Linked DNA regions of Homo sapiens: regions 1, 2 and 3 are each linked to region 4. Evidence: promoter capture Hi-C in human tissues and cell types (Jung and others, 2019). All regions are on one chromosome and are shown on one strand. The core of a region is centred on a gene start or on the middle of the fragment in contact, and the rest is flanking DNA. Distances in the headings are between cores, read along the strand shown. Region 1 overlaps SUGCT (succinyl-CoA:glutarate-CoA transferase). Region 2 overlaps SUGCT (succinyl-CoA:glutarate-CoA transferase). Region 3 overlaps SUGCT (succinyl-CoA:glutarate-CoA transferase). Region 4 holds the start of INHBA (inhibin subunit beta A).

Region 1 (2,700 bases), core at 144-2,643, 1.0 Mb after region 4:
AGAGACATCTAGTTCAAATTCTGGCTTTATCACCTCCTATGGCAAGACCTCCATGAACCTCTGTTTATCTATGAAATAGATCATTTCAATAAGAATCCAATGAGAAAGGGTTATAAATATTTTTGCTACATGGTGAGCACTTAACAAATTTTTGTGTCTCTTGAAATCTGCCCACATTTTCTTCTCTTTATATTCCTCCTTCCCCAAACTCCATGCCATTCCTCTCCCTAGAAAAGAAGAAGGCGGTTGTTGAAACTTTAGATAAAAAAGAATTCTAAGACAAGTTTTAGGTGAGTTCATCCAAGCAGACTCTAAGAAAGAAAGACATCCATTTGACTTTCCATTTGACTTGAATACTATAAATCTGATGTCAAAAAAGTTTCTAGTATGAAGATAAAGATAGGATTCTTAAGCCAAGACTTTAATAATTTCTGGCTGCCATCACTGAGTGGATATAGCAGGCTGTCTTGGTTTGGCTCCATTAAACTTTTGATATATCTAGCGTATATCTAACATATATCAAAAGTTTATATCTGATTCCACTCTCACCAGAAAGCTGGGCCTGACTTCTGGGAAGAATTATTGATCATGCTGATTTCAATTCTTTCTAAACCCCAATAGCTATGATAGCTCATGATCAGTAAGAAATATGGCTTCTGGGTATGATCCAGCTGTGAGGAGAAAAAGTTCTGTCTTATATCAGTACTAAAGGCAAAAAAAAAAAAAGTTTCTCACATAAATTAATCAAGTAGTTTTCAGGAGTCTACACAGTCTCATATACACTGTAGGTTCGTAAGAGAAAATATTGATTGACCTTGAGCCCAAAAACCATTTCTTGCATCTTCAAGTAGAGGGCCAGGTCACTCCAGGATTTCATGCAGCTCCACTTGTTTCCTGTTTCTATAGAATCCGTCTTCATTCTTTGAGATCCTTAGTTCTCCAACAGTAGGAAGACCCAATATCAGTTTTTCCTGAGTCTTCCTTTTCTATTCCAGAGGAAATATCAGACAGCCAAGTGCAAAAGGCCCAAGTATATTTCGTCCAGATGGGCTCTTGCCTTTTCCTCTGGAGAAGAACCAGACCTTGAGGGTGTCTGTCAGTGACTTCTAGTTACAACCTTTAGGTCCTCCTAAGATTTCAGCTCAAATGTTTATATGGATGGCCAGGTGTGGTGGCTCCTGCCTATATCTCAGCACTTTGGGAGGCTGAGGAGTGTGGATGGCTTGAGCCCAGGAATTCAAGATCAAACTGGGCAACATGGTGAAACCCCGTTTCTACAAAAAAATACAAAAATTAGTCAGGCAGTCAGGCATCTTGGCACGTGCCTGTAGTCCCAGCTACTCGGGAGGCTGAGGTGGGAAGATCATCTGAGCCGAGGAGGTCAGAGGTTGCAGTAAGCTGAGATCCAGCCACTGCACTACAGCCTGAGCGACAGAGTTTCACCTTGTCTCAAAAAAAAAAAATTATAGGGATGAATTGATCTCTCTATATCTTGCTATTCCATTAATATGACTTACAGCAAGAATTATGAGAAAGTAGTTTTTAAATAATTAACATATTAAGCATAATATACCTATTAATATAATTAATGTATTGGGCAATAATTAACATAATTAGGCATAGGGAAGAAGTAAGTGCTTACGAAAGATAATATTTGATTTATAGAGTACATCTAAAGGTAGCTAGAAGGTCTACTTAAGGTTCTAAAACGTTTTATAAATTGTTTTTTGAGCAGAAGTCTACTCATGTCACAAAAATATTCTTAATCATATATATAATGATATTGTGAATACAACAACTTTAAGGCAACAGTCCCAGACAACCAAATTGTAACCATTATGTTTACCATCTTGGCCCATATCCCAAGCTCCACATGTTTTCGGCATCCTTTTTGGACTCAACAATAAGGGGCTCAACTATGAAGACTCCTTTATGTTACTATTACAAATGCAAAGAGAACAAATCCATTTATGTAAATATGAATTTGAAATTCTTTGTAGTATGGTGACCATATGCATGGATTCTCAGAAAGCAAAAGCCAAATATTAATTTCCCATTCTGTGGAAGTACTTTAGGTTTCTGACATAGGGAACTGATCCTATTAAGTGGTAATTTACAGTGGCTACTTGTTGCTTACATGTGGAAAATCCATAGGGGTAAGTCATAGGAATTAGGGAAGAGAGTACCCTGAGTAAAATAATATGCACAGCTAATCCTTATGACTCACTCAATATCCTTCTCCCCAATCCCCCCACCCTTCAATCCATCCACCCCACCCCCTGCCACTCAATTAAGTGAAACTGTCCAGCCAGTTTGGCTGCTACAAGAATTTGAGTTGGAGCAAACAGACGTGGTCTGTTTATAAGAAATGGGCCTTTAGCCATGGTTTCATCTCATTTGCACCAGGATTCCACTAGAAGATTTTCTGTGTTGGCTATATGATGCCCTTCATATAGTGTGAAGGAAGTACAAGTCAGGAAAGAATTTTGTCCTTATGGAAGATCAGCAGGAGTAGAAAGCCTCTGTCTGAAATCTGAGAGGATTATGTTCCACTAAAGTTGCTAAATATTCTCATTGGAAAATTACCCACGATAATCCTCTTGAAAGTGACATTCTAAACAAACTATGGTCTTTCTGCTTTGCTTGGAAATCTATGATTTTCTTAAAAAATTCAGACATAAAAAAGGTAAAAAAGATTGC
Region 2 (2,718 bases), core at 105-2,604, 1.2 Mb after region 4:
CATAGACCAATAACAAAAATTTTTGTAGTTCCAGAAGAATTGAGATGCAAAGATTAAAGTAATTACATTGAACCACAAGAGAAAATTAGTTATAAAAATCCTAATTATCCTATATTCACTTTGAGCTAGCCAATAAAGTGAATTATTTTAAGATAGTGGGTGGGATTATAAATCTTTGTTTATCAAAGCCTAAAAAATAGGTAGTGTTAGAATATACTTAATATATTTTTAAATAATATAATTATTTAAAAATAACTCTTTGCTTTGGTGCCTTCATCTCTAATAAAACACAGATGGAGCAATAGAAATGCTGATGGAAAAACTCTTAGGAAATATCTCCAGAAAAATGTACCCTCAAACTGAGGTAAACATGAAGTTCTACGTACACCTCAATACACGACAGCTTCAAATGATGGCTTGGCCTCACTCAAAGTTATAAAGTGAGAAAAACAGTCCCCTGGTCTACTATATTCAGAGTATGCACAATGCTACCTCCTTGTAAAGAATCACCAGGCATTAATCCACTGATGGTGTGGGGTCCCTTTCAGATGAATTCACATAGTACACACCAAATGGGCCCCTTTATCTCAAATACTTATTGACCATTATTGACCAAAGTTTTAACATGAACAAAGCCTTGAGATATTCACAATCTTGGCCGAAAAAATAGCACAAGCAGAATTCCTGAATTCATTCACTTTTTTTCTCCAGTAAATGTAGTAACCATTAAATTTAAAATATTTCAATTTTCTTTTAAGCAGATATTCATGTAAGATAAAAGGCACCAAAGGTTTTCCAACAAAGGTCTCCTCCCTCAAAAGGTGTATTCTATGCTCAGTAATTTATTTCTAAGAAAAACCTGCCACGATATAAATATAAAGAACCCAAGAAAATATACCCCATGGTTTTGAATTTTGGAAACTGACAAGACAGTTGAATAATCATAGTGAAAGCTTTAAAATGGACTCCCTGTACTTTTGGGGATCGATGGATGAATTTGAGAAATGGTAAATTGCTTGTAGTTTTTTGATTGAAGTAATAAAATCAAAACATTATTTTCACATAATCTAAAAATAATCACTTGAACAATGTTATAAAGTAAATATATTTTCAGGTGACCCTGTTCCTGGAGCCCAAAAAGGAGCCTGATAAGCAACGTAGAGCACAAATATCTATCTGTGTAAAATTTATGCCTTACAAATAACACATATTCATCAAAGCAAACAAAGTCCTCTCATCTGCAGAATTAAATATGACTTGCTCTGTACATTTTAAGATAATCATATGATCAGAGAGATAATCATATGATCAGAGGTATAATCATATGATCAGAGGTTTAAGATAATCATATGATCAGAGGTATGAAAGTTCTCATATTTCTTCCTACAAAGAATAGTCTCTGAGTACCCAACCCCAATATCTCAATTGTGTATATTTCTGTTTTTCAGGAAAATTAAATACCCTGGCCACAGAAACTTCATGTAGTGGCTGATGAAGAAATACAGTATATTAAATCTAACAGAGACATAAGTATGCTTATGGACAGGCACTTCTAAGTTCTGGTTCTTTTTATCTCAGACCCACAAACAATTTTAATATGATGGTGAAAATTCACATCATGTGACTTAAGCTTGCGATCAATGGCAAAGGTACCTTGATATAAGTCAATCTGGACAGAAAACAGAGGCGTTGTTAAACTTCAAAAACAAACCTGAGGTTCTGCAAATACATTCTTCATGTTGTTGATTGGGCCATACGGGACTCCACTGCCTTCAAAAAGATATAACCACTTGCTGGTCAGTTCTTCTTCAAACCTAAGAAGACAAACAAGGATAAATTTTTTACACAGGAAGGAATGTAACACAGCCTCTTCTATCATGTGGCCCTCTTTGAAAGCAAGCAATAGTCATAAAACTATGTTTCCTAGTCTTTCTTTACACCTCATTTGAGAGAAGGTTGTCTGTATGAAATGACTTGAGTGGCCCTGTGGTGGATAAGAGTAGCCACCCAGGTGCTAGTGTTTAAAAATCCATCATTTAGAGATGTAATTCTTCCTATTTCTATTGCTATGAACTCTCTGAGCAATTTATGAATTTAATAATAATAATATCATTGTACTTTGAGCGTGAAGTCATTGGGCAATATGTCTTTTAGGTCTCAGGTAGTGGAAATCGGGTTAGGATAGGCACTGATATATTATTCTTCAAAACAAAAAAAATACTAATATAGCTGTTTTAAGAAAGCTTTGGGAAAAGTACACAAAAATTAATGGTCACAACCATTGGCCTACAAACAACCTTTGCACTGTGATTTACTAACCAGCACAACTCAAGACATGCAAAGAGTGATATTTCAGTTTAACCAACAAAACTCAAATTCATCCAAATCCTTTGTCTGTTTTATTTCTACTATAATTTAAAATTGGACTTCATAGACAGAAAAGCACATGGATTTTCTTTATTTTCTCTAATAGGTCTCAAGGAAGGGAAGCTAACACATTTATGAGATTTATTGTTTTATATTTCTTCTCTGTAAAAACAGTGAACACAGAAATAAAATCTTGGATCTATAGGGACACCACAACACAATTAGTTTCTAAGGTATGAAGAATTTCAGAATTATTGATTATTAAAATATCAAACCTGTTTTAATTAATTAATAATCTAGGTAACCAAAGAGACATTTTTAAAATATTAGCCAAAGTAGACTAAAATGTTT
Region 3 (2,700 bases), core at 161-2,660, 1.2 Mb after region 4:
CACCATCTCCAGGAAGCCTTCCCTGATTTCCCAGATTAAAGGAGTTGCTCCTTCTCTGGGCTCCCCAATCCACTGTGCATATGATTACCCAGGTAATTCCCACACTCTACTTAAATCAATGCTTTCTGTGTTTATTTTCCTAATTAGACCATGAGCTCCTTAAAAGCCCAGGCTTCATCTTTCAGCTCTGTATCTGCAGGACAATGGTACACAGTCAATGGCCAATAAATGTTGGTGAAGAGAGGAAGAGAGAGAGAATAAAATAAATTTTATGTCTATTTTCTCCATCAATTCTCTTCTCCTTCATCCTCATTTCATGTTTTCCTATTATTTCTCCCCAAACACTAATACATCATCTTTATCCCTCTCTTCCTAGTTTCAATTCACAACTTGCAATATCTCTCTTGGGGTCCTAACTATTGCAAAAATGCTGATCTGGTGTGTGAGTAGCACAGGTTTAAGAGTTTGTTGCTCCTTAGCATTGCAAAGAAGGGGATTGTTTTATCTGGCGCTGGATTAGTCTCCATTATATCTCCTCTTCTGTTTTAGCTAGGGATTTTTAACATGATTGAGTTTTACCTAGTTTTCAATGTTAGCAGCTGGGTAAACATACTTTCTGCAACACCCTGGATAAAATGGCAAACTCCAGGGGAAAGTCTTCTACCTTTAGATTAATAAAAAAGACTTGCTCACAGCCCTGGTTGGGGAATAGTAACACTTGAGAGCATTTGAGGGGAATCGTGTGTGCTGGCTGTGGAAAACGCAGCTGATGACCAAAACAGGCAGCTGCCGTCCTGAGTGAGGCTGATCGCCCTCAGAGAGTAGCTTCAAACTGTACTTAGCAAGAATAACAGAGAACTGAGGTAAGTGACTGACAACTCTGGTAGGTACTTCCAAAAAAGCCTGGACTTTTCATAGGAGAATCACCTGATTCTAAAAAATATAAATGAAGGCTTACAAGGGACAGGGAGGGGAGTACTCAAAAATTGCTCAAGGAAAATACTTTGGAAGGAAGATTTTGAAACACAATAGGAAATTCACGTGTATATTTACAAGAGCCAACTTTGTAAAAATCCATAAATGCTTCTGTTTTCACTGTCTTCGAATTGGGTGTAAAGGATGAGAAAACTTTTTAAAATAAACACAGTGAGTTCATCATTCCTAGAGTTTGTTTTTAAAGTTATCTGCTGTGCAAATTCACTCTCATGAATCCCTCCACATTTTCACGTTTTAAAGATTTTCTAAAATAAAAATATCAGGCAAGGAAAGTGTCTATAAGTATTAAAGGAAAGTGCCTGCGATGTAAGGTTTAACAGAAGACAACAGGCAAAAACACGATAGACTCACATGGTAAAGTCGATTATTTGTGAGTGGCTACTGTTACTAAAAATATGTTTTTACTATGGAAATGGCTGGCAAACCACATTTTAAAAACTGGAGCATGTATATCAACATGTTGAAAAAGTACAATAAATGAGTAACAGGTACAGCCTATAACTGTAATAGTTTTGCAAGAGAAAAAATTTTTTAAGTGGTTATTATGAAAAATATGGAAAACTAACTTCTTAGGCTCACCGAAACAAATGTGTTAAGTAATAGTTCAAAAACAACCACTACCAAAAAGAAGTATGTCTTCTAGAAAGTCTGCAATGGTTACCAAATGAAAATTCAGGAGGGCAGGAATTCTTGACTGTATTTTACTGCTATATCCCTAGTGCTCAGAACAGTTCATGGCACATAGTAGGTGTTCAACAAATGCTTGTTGAATATGTGAGAGACTGAATAAATGGAGAAGCATAGACCACTTCAACCTGGCCCTCTGGTCTTCCTAGGTGAGAAACGGGGTCTTCCTGACTCCACGTTGCTGAAATGCTTTGACCTCTTCTCTACTAGGTAGAGCACTCCCTCCCTTGACGCTCTCTCTTCAAGTTAGAAAAAAGTTGCAATAAGCAAATCCATTTTATGGCCAGAAAAAAAAATCCTTTATTTCACAAGTTTAAGAAACTACTTTGTCATAAAGGCTTTCATGAGTTCACGACTTGATCTGCCTGCCATGGGCTCCCACTCTCTCTGAACCAACCTGACACCCCTCTTCTCTTGCTCCCTCAGATCCAAGCACACTGTCCTCTGACTTACTCCATAAACTCTGCCTGGAATTCATCTCCCAGATGCCTGCCAGCCTCCCTCAGACATTTTCTCTCATTTCTTGCAAGCTTCTGATCAAATGTCACTTTCACAGAGAAGCCCTCTGTGACCAGACTAAATGAAAAACCCAGCTTCACACTTAACTTCTGGCATTCTTCCTTGTCCTGGCCTGTATTATTTTTCATGGATACACTTTGTCTGTTTCGTTCACTTCTCTATCCCCAACTTGCAACAGTGCCTACTACACAGTTAGTGCTCAATAAATATTTCTTGAGCGCATAAACAAACAAGGACACAGTCATATTTCATGTGCCACTTCAGGGAGGCAATATGAGAGATGAAAAAGGTGTAGCCTTTTGAATCCCATTTCTAACTATTCACTATGTGCCTGACCTGGAGACCACCTCCCTAAATGTCAGAATTTTCATATCAAGTGGGAATAATAACACTTATCTGGCATGTACTTGGCAGCCACCAAAGGCTGGTTCCACTCCTTCCTTTCTCCCTGGCTCCTTTTTTGTGGCTATGAGCTAATGTAACACTTTTGTTAGGAAA
Region 4 (2,700 bases), core at 116-2,615:
GCTAAGCTGAGGGGCAGGTTTGGAGTTCACCATCATTAATCCTATTTCTGTCTTCGCCACTCAGATTCACTCTCTTCCTCTACAACCTAATGATTTTTTTCCTACTTCATTTCTGCATATGCAGTTCTTAGAATACTCCTTCCCCCCACCCCCATGCAGCTCAGCACCCACACTTTCTCTGTATCTAGCCAAGAGAGACCCTTTTACACAGAAAACTTCTGGTGTCCTAATGGAACCTGCTTAAGCCACACATCAGGAGGCCAGAGCCTCTATATTTTGCTTGTGGGCACAGTGAAAAGTTTATTTTATGCATGTTAAATCCTGCATACAAAACAACATATCTGGTCATATGGCTCTCATTAGCTCCCAATTTTGCACATTTTATCCAACTTGTCATGAGAACTGGGCTTATGCTTCAACTGTAGTCCTTCAAACAACCCTTCACCGTTCTTGTCAGAGGACCCCTTCCTCCTGTGTTATTTACCAGACTTGCCAACACCCCTCCCCCACAAAAAAAGCCTGACCAGCTTTACCCCTATTTCAAGGAGTGTTCACTTCTTTTCATTAATCTGCTGTTATATTTGTAACAATTTAGAAATTATAGGAGTTGAAGTTCTGGTAAAAAAGAATGATGCATGAGGGTTTTTGTTGTTGTTGTTGTTGTGTGTGTGTGTGTGTGTGTGTGTGTTTGGTTAGTTAGAATGAGATTCTAAAGACCTGGGAAGGATACTTATGAAGTTCATTTAAAGAGAATTACTATTTCCAAAGTTCTTGATTTATGAAGCAGGCATTCAATTTCAAGATGTAAAATAATAGTGTAAGTTGGTTGGGGTCGGGGGAGACCATCATCATATGATTATACAGATTTTCCCAATTTTTTTCCTCAATGAAATAGCTTATTTTAAAAATATAAAATTAGAATCCCTATAAAGAACACTACCAATTTTCTTTCCTGAAAGAAACAATAAAATACTTTGTAAATAGAAGCAACTTCATGAAGTAACAGATGTTTTATGTAAAGACATAAAACTGAACCTGAATATAACGAGACGTGTGTGCGAGTAGTAAAAGTTGAAAGTTGGACACACTCATTGAGACATATCTATTTGATTCCAATGTTTTTCTAAAAGGTAGAGTAATCCTAGCCAGAGGTTTCACTGGCTCAGTGCATCACCCAGTAGTGTCTCAGAAGCCAGGAAGGGCTTTCCATTAGATAATGAATTATGAAATGTCTCACACTGGAAAAACCAGTCATCCGCTGATGTCATGCTGATTCCAACCAATCCCAAACAAAGCCCCAGCCCTCCTCTGTTTCAGTGGTACCAATGTGTGGTGTACAAATAAGTAGTACAGTATAAAACTTCACAGTGCCAATACCATGAAGAGGAGCTCAGACAGCTCTTACCACATGATACAAGAGCCGGCTGGTGGAAGAGTGGGGACCAGAAAGGTAATGCTTTTTAACTCTTACTTCTGAGCTCTTTACACATTCAAAGATAGGAAAGCTAGGAGGAATTTTACAACTAATTGGCATTTCCAATGTGCATTGTGATGTGTACCTTTTTATATTATTCAGGCAGGTTAATACAGCTTTTAATAGTCCTAGAGCATGCAAATAGATTATATGTTTATACAAGCCACTCAGCACATATATACAAGTACATATGCCAAAGAGAAAGCTATTTTTAAGAGTTACATTCGCAAACAGTAAATTCAGGGAACACACACATACTCAGATGCAGAGAGAATCCAAATATTGATAAGTTGCACTTATCTAAATGCTGCTATTAGGACTCCTGAGTTGTTTAGAGCCATTAAACTTTTGGTTGTATTTCAGACTTTCTTGTAAAACTTAATTGAACTGCAAAACATTTTGGGTACTGTATATGTGACTCCAAATAGGTGGATGATGTTAAGTATTATAGCACAAAGATTTTTTATAAAACCATTGTAACACAAATGTCCCCTGCCTCCCCCATTCTCTTTCACCATCCCCGTAAAAAATATGAGGCTTTTTAGGCAATGTTGACAAAGTTTTAACAATAATGGTGGAGTAATTGATGTTTCTGGAGCTGAAACCCCAAAGGTGTTAGGTTACTTGTAACAGAAAAAGTCTTACAAATAGTTGTTTTGGAAAAGGGGACAGTATATATAATTCAGAAAGCATTGTTAACCTGTGCAAACTGTAATTATAACTTAGTGTCACAATTTTCTTGCCCTCTTCCCCTTGCACTCAGATCTTATCTTGTAGTAATGATATTTATTAACTCTTTCCACCTAAACTGCATTGCTTGACTGTAATGCTATGAACACACTAGGTGTCAGATATAAGCTGAGTGTATCTTCAGAAACCAAGAGGGCTTATGTGTGGGAAAGAAACCGAGAGGGAAGGAACGCTTTAACAGATGGACCCCTTAAAGATTCTTCTGCAAGATAAAAGCAATAAGACAGAAAATGAAAAAGAGGGGAGGGGGAAGAATTTTTTTTAAGCCTTAGAAAGGCATTGTTAAAAAATTCACATTTTTCTTTTTCTGTGCACACTAAAATCCATGATGATTTCATCTGCACTGTTCCTTTGAGGGAAAAAGAAGCAGTCAAGGAGGCTGTCTATGAATGCACTGGTCGGGACAGGCTTGGGGCAAGCTGAAAAAACTACCACATGACAGAGAAAAATAATTTGCCAATATATTTTAGAGAGTC

What was found. Contacts are between HindIII fragments. The study calls those that stand out against the background at their distance.
Region 1: a fragment that was not itself captured here is called in contact with the fragment with the promoter of INHBA in region 4 in 1 of the 25 tissues and cell types used here (aorta).
Region 2: a fragment that was not itself captured here is called in contact with the fragment with the promoter of INHBA in region 4 in 2 of the 25 tissues and cell types used here (H1 embryonic stem cells and aorta).
Region 3: a fragment that was not itself captured here is called in contact with the fragment with the promoter of INHBA in region 4 in 2 of the 25 tissues and cell types used here (dorsolateral prefrontal cortex and lymphoblastoid cells).

Annotation. Positions count from the first base shown.
Region 1 is chr7:40,689,337-40,692,036 of GRCh38, reverse strand. All of the region lies in intron 12 of SUGCT (succinyl-CoA:glutarate-CoA transferase), which reads right to left. Among named protein-coding and RNA genes, the nearest start is that of SUGCT-AS1, 140 kb to the right of the region's middle. The HindIII fragment of the contact is 5,614 bases long and covers 1-2,700 here.
Region 2 is chr7:40,495,380-40,498,097 of GRCh38, reverse strand. SUGCT (succinyl-CoA:glutarate-CoA transferase) reads right to left here. Exons shown (of 14, transcript NM_001193313.2): 12 at 1,712-1,814. Among named protein-coding and RNA genes, the nearest start is that of SUGCT-AS1, 50 kb to the left of the region's middle. The HindIII fragment of the contact is 3,548 bases long and covers 1-2,718 here.
Region 3 is chr7:40,461,729-40,464,428 of GRCh38, reverse strand. All of the region lies in intron 11 of SUGCT (succinyl-CoA:glutarate-CoA transferase), which reads right to left. Among named protein-coding and RNA genes, the nearest start is that of SUGCT-AS1, 84 kb to the left of the region's middle. The HindIII fragment of the contact is 4,360 bases long and covers 1-2,700 here.
Region 4 is chr7:41,701,755-41,704,454 of GRCh38, reverse strand. It overlaps INHBA (inhibin subunit beta A), which reads left to right and starts at 1,365. Exons shown (of 3, transcript NM_002192.4): 1 at 1,365-1,450. All of the region lies in intron 1 of INHBA-AS1 (INHBA antisense RNA 1), which reads right to left. The HindIII fragment of the contact is 9,174 bases long and covers 1-2,700 here.